Regions from separate parts of the Homo sapiens genome. Here region 2 is linked to region 1. The links are contacts of gene promoters, found by promoter capture Hi-C in blood cells and fetal thymus (Javierre and others, 2016). All regions are on one chromosome and are shown on one strand. The core of a region is centred on a gene start or on the middle of the fragment in contact, and the rest is flanking DNA. Distances in the headings are between cores, read along the strand shown.

Region 1 (2,602 bases), core at 76-2,575:
GGCTGGAGGCCCCCTAGAGCCGCTTAGAGTCCAGGGCACCGAGGTGGACAGGCTGGGCTGGCAAGACTGCATCCGGAGGGGGCGGGAGAACCCTGGGGGGACAGAGGGAACCAAGGCCTCTGGGAGGCTCCCCTGCACCCAGCCTGACTCCTGTGTTTCAGGATCCTGCGGCCGACGGCCATCGGGGCCCTTCCTGCGCAGGACAGTGGGAGAAGAGTGGCAGTGGTGGGGAGGGTGAACCAGGGAGAAGCTCACTGCTCTGAGCAGGGAGGGAGGGAGCCCCGGCCACCACCAGGTCTCTGCCCCCAGGTGGCTCCCAAGAGGCAGGCAGCGGCCTCTCTGTAAATATCCACCAGGTCCAGCACCCAGAGGCAGCCAGAAATGCAGGGCACAGGAACCTGCCAGCGCGTCCCTCCACACACAGCAGGGGACTCCCGCCCCCACCTCTCACTCACCGACCCTCGGACCAGAACCAGCTGCACCTGCCCCGTTCCTGGGGCCGGCAAGGCCTGGGGCAAAGAGAGCGTGGTCCTTCAAATGACCCTTGCCCAGCAGGGAGAGGGAGACACCTGGCATGGCCCTGGACCTCTCCCCCAAATGCAGAGCTCAAGCCCCAATTCCTCGCCAAACAGCAAGGGCGTGAGATACCACGGCGGGGCCCAGAATGCAGAAGAGCAAATGGAAACTTCCAACTGCGCAGCCCTGAGCTCCTCCGATTCCCCAGCCCCCACCCCCACGCCAGGCCCCGGGCAGCGAACCTGCCCGCAGTGCCCACGCCCGCCCGCCGCGTGCGCTCCTGCCACGCCCGGCCCGGCCCGGCCCGGCCCGCCAGGTGCCCTGAAGGGGCGGAGGGTGCAGGGGGTCCTGGCGCCGTCCAGCCCGGGGCGGAGTTCTCAGCAACTCCGCGCGCCGGGATCCCGGCCGCCCTCCCCGCGCGCGTCCCCCGCCCCGCGCCCGGAGCCCGCGCCCCGGCCCCACGACGGCCGCGCCGGGAGGGACCCCGGGCCCGCGCACGCCGCGCCCTGCCCGCGCCGGCGACCGGAGGGCACGGCCCCAGGCGCGGGCGGGGGCCCCGAGGCACTGAGGGTCCGCGGCCGCTGCCTACCTCGGTCCGGGCCAGCGTCGCTCCCGCGCCGCCCTCGCGCCGCAGTCGGGCCCCGAGCAGCGCGCGGCCGGCGCCGGCGGCGGCTCATGCTCGGCGCCCGGGCCCGCGGCACCCGCCCACCCGCGGCCGCCCCCGCGCTGCGCCAGCTGCGGGCAGAGCAGCTCCCTCCGCAGCCGGCGCCGGGGAGCGCGAGCGAGCGAGCGAACGAGCGAGCGCGGAGCGAGCGCCGAGCGGGCACGGAGCGGGCGCGAGAGCGCGGGGAGCGGGGGAGCGGGCGGGCGCGGGACGCGGAGGGAGGAGGGTGCGGGGCAAAGGTGCAGGGGGAGGTAGGGCGCGGGACGGGGCTCGAGCAGAGGGCACTGGGACAGGGCGGGCGCCGGGAGAGGGCGGCCAGGCTTTCATTTAAAAAGGATAAGGCATCACGCCTGTAATCCCAGCACTTTGGGAGGCCGAGACGGGCGGATCACGAGGTCAGGAGATCGAGACCATCCCGGCTAACACGGTGAAACCCCATCTCTACTAAAAATACAAAAAAAAAAATTAGCCGGGCGTGGTGGCGGGCGCCTGTAGTCCCAGCTACTCGGGAGGCTGAGGGAGGAGAATGGTGTAAACTCGGGAGGTGGAGCTTGCAGTGAGCCGAGATCGCGCCACTGCACTCCAGCCTGGGTAACAGAGTGAGACTCCGTCTCAAAAAAAAAAAAAAAAAAAAAAAAAAAAGGATCAGGCAGCAGACAAGCTAGGAGGCGATGCGGCCACCGCATTTAAAAGGCCCTCTGGGGACTCCCGCAGAGCTGGCAAAATTTTTGTCAGTGGAATCAGACGGTGAAAGCCCTTCTGTGGGCAAGTCCTGGCCCCTTGGGTCACTCCCCTTAACCATCTTAATCGCCCTGTAAGGTCGGTGGTGGATTTGTTCCCATTGGACAGGTTAGTAAACTGATGCACAGGGAGTGCGGTTACCCTGCAGGGTCTCAGAGCCTATAAGTGGCAGAGCAAGGCTCCAAAGCCACCTTGAAAGATTTCAGAACCACTAAAGCAGGACACAGGTCTTCTGGCGTCCACTGGAACTTCCTGTCGCTCTGAAGGGTCACCTTCTCTTGAACGGACACCCTGTGGCCTGACCCCAGGGTGGCCCAGAGTGACTCTTGCAGGCAGTCAGACGAGGGCCAGTGAGAAACAGGTCTGGGGCGACGATGTCCCCAGGTGGAGGGGTCTGTGTGAAAAAATGGGGAGGAGCCCCACAGCACCCCTTGAAGAGGCTGAGGACCTTGCTTACTCACTTAGTCCTTGTGTCTTGAACACCTGTATGCCAGGTGTAAGATGGGGCACTGGGATTCGGCTGTGAATGTCTCTGTCTGGTTGGAGTTTGCATTCTTGTGGGAAGTAGGCAGTGAATAAAAATACACATAAATAGTTCATGTGTCAGATGCTGCAGATCCCACAGAGAGGCCCAGCAGGGAGAGGGAGCCAGCGAAGGGAGGGGGAGGGGAGCTTGTAGGG
Region 2 (2,602 bases), core at 66-2,565, 210 kb after region 1:
TCTGTAGTCCTAGCTACTCAGGAGGCTGAGGTAAGAAGATTGCTTGAGCCCAGGAGGTCAAAGCTGCAGTGAGCTGTGTTTGTGCCACTGCATTCCAGCCTGGGTGACAGAACAAGACCGTGTTTCAAAAAAAAAAAAGCAGGGGCTGGGTGCGGTGTGGCTCAAGCCTGTAATCCTAGCACTTTGGGAGGCTGAGGTGGGCCGAGGTCAGGAGTTTGAGATGAGCCTGACCAACATGATGAAACCCTGTCTCTACTAAAAATACAAAAATGAGCCAGGCGTGGTGGTGCGCCCCTGTAACCCCAGCTACTCAGGAGGCTGAAGCAGGAGAATTGCTTGAACCTGGGAGGTGGAGGTTGCGGTGAGCTGAGATCGTGCCATTGCACTACAGCCTGGGTGACATGCCTGGAGCCCCATGTACTTGGGAGGCTGAGGCAGGAGTATTGCTTGAACCCAGGAATTTGAGGCTGTAGTGTGCAATGATCATGCCTGTGAATGTACTCCAGCATGGGCAAAACAGCAAGACCTGGCCTCTAAAAGGAAAAATGATTTATTATTTATTTTTTGAGACAGAGTCTAGCTCTGTCACCCAGGCTGGAGTGAAGTGGCGTGATCTTGGCTCACTGCAACCTCCACCTCCCAGGTTCAAGTGATTCTCCTGTCTCAGCCTCCCCAGTAGCCGGAATTACAGGTGCGCACCACCAAGCTTGACTAATTTTTGTATTTTTAATAGAGACAGGGTTTCACCACATTGGCCAGGCTGGTCTTGAACTTCTGACCTCAAGTGATCTGCCTGCCTTGGCCACCCAAAGTGCTGGGATTATAGGCATGAGCCACCACACTCAGCCTAGGTTTTTTTTTTAATCAATTTTTTAAAAAATATCAATTCTACTAAAAGACTGCCACCTCACAGATTGAATACCAGGCCACCACACAGTATCTTAAGAGGCCAGGCTCCTCCCCCCTGTACAAGGCGCAAACTTCCCCTGCCTCCACCTCATTCTCCCAGTGTGCAGGTGGGTCCCCAGTCTGTTGCAGGCATGTGCAGACAAGACCCTGGGCAGATTCCCTTATCTGCAGAAAAGCATCTGATGTAAACACTTGTGGGGTTGGTTGGAGATTCTCCGGGGACCCTCCCTTATCTGCCTCCTGCGTCTATCACTAGCAGGACCTCGTATAATTTTTGTATGAATTAAGAAAGTAGGCCGGGCCTAGTGGTTCACATCTGTAATCCCAGCACTTTGGGAGGCCAGGGCAGGAGGATCGCTTGAGCCTGGAGTTCAAGACCAGCCTGGGCAACATGGTGAGACCTTGTCTCTACAAATAAACAATTAGCTGGGTGTGGTGGTGCGTGCCTGTTGTCCCAGCTACTTGGGAGGCTGAGGTGGCAGAATCGCTTGTGCCCCAGTGGTCAAGGTTGCAGTGAGTTGTGATCATGCCACAGCACTCTAGCCTGAGTGATAGCGCAAGACCCCGTCTGAAAAAAAAAAAAAATTAATATACCGGCAGAGTCCTCATACCAGGATTTCTCATTTTCCTACAATGTATAATATCAATAGTAGGCATCCTATGTAGCATTTTCTCTTCAACTATCAACAGTGAACATGACAAGGTGTTAGATCTCACACATGTTGTATGCTCTCCACTTCTGATCACTGTAGAATGAAAACAAATGTACTGTTCTAGGGATCAGTGTCCTTCAGTGATGTGGCTGTGGGCTTCACCCAGGAGGAGTGGCAGCATCTGGACTCTGCTCAGAGGACCCCGTACAGAGACATGATGCTGGAGAACTACAGCCTCCTCCTCTCAGTGGGTAAGGATTATGTAATTTGCAGCTTCAAATAACATTTATTTCCTTTTTAGCTGCTGATTACAGATGGTTTCTTTGTATGAATATGAGTTAAAGGCTTGAGACTCAGGAGTTGAAGCTTGATTGATCCCTTCTGGGCACTGTAAAGAATATCTGTGGTGTTTTCTGTAATGAAATGCTCAAGTGGACCTATTTTTGTGCAGGCACACCTTTGTCCTCCGCAGGCTATCTGGCCCACGTCCTGTGTCATTTTCATTCACAGGATATTGCATTACCAAACCAGAGGTGGTTTGCAAGTTGGAGCATGGACAGGTGCTGTGGATATTAGAGGAAGAGTCCCCAAGTCAGAGCCACCTAGGTGAGTTAATAAATATATAGGAAGCTATAATCCCAGGGAGAAATTTGATCCTAGGGAGATACTTCACATATTGACATCTTTGAAATTTTTCAGAGATATGTTTTTAGAGTTACCAGAACTTTGGAAGTGACTAAGAAGAGTTGGCCTGCTTGCCTCAGATGTATATGTTATTACACACTAGCAGATAACAGCTAAATGGTCTTTGTTTTTTTCCAAAACTTAATCCTTGCCTCTCTCAGTTTAGTCAAATGAATGTCATTTGACTCTTCCTTCTATATCAATTTCAGTTATCTTCTTTTCATCATATATTATGTATTTATTCAATATGTATTAATTTGGCAGCTACGATGTTGGCATTTCCATCTGTGTTAGAGATATAGCTCTAACACCATGGCTGTGTTATGTTGGTAGAAGAGAATGAGATGTAGTGTGTG

What was found. The method cuts DNA at HindIII sites, captures the fragments that hold promoters and counts their contacts. A CHiCAGO score of 5 or more calls a contact.
Region 2: a contact is called between a fragment that was not itself captured here and the fragment with the promoter of RASGEF1A in region 1, in 2 of 17 cell types (neutrophils and erythroblasts). The highest score is 6.5, in neutrophils.

Annotation. Positions count from the first base shown.
Region 1 is chr10:43,265,740-43,268,341 of GRCh38, forward strand. It overlaps RASGEF1A (RasGEF domain family member 1A), which reads right to left and starts at 1,326. Exons shown (of 13, transcript NM_145313.4): 1 at 1,106-1,326. RefSeq lists an enhancer at 1-831. The HindIII fragment of the contact is 10,296 bases long and covers 1-2,602 here.
Region 2 is chr10:43,474,035-43,476,636 of GRCh38, forward strand. It overlaps ZNF487 (zinc finger protein 487), which reads left to right. Exons shown (of 4, transcript NM_001355444.3): 2 at 1,687-1,813; 3 at 2,073-2,168. The coding sequence starts at 1,780. Among named protein-coding and RNA genes, the nearest start is that of ZNF487, 38 kb to the left of the region's middle. The HindIII fragment of the contact is 1,222 bases long and covers 705-1,926 here.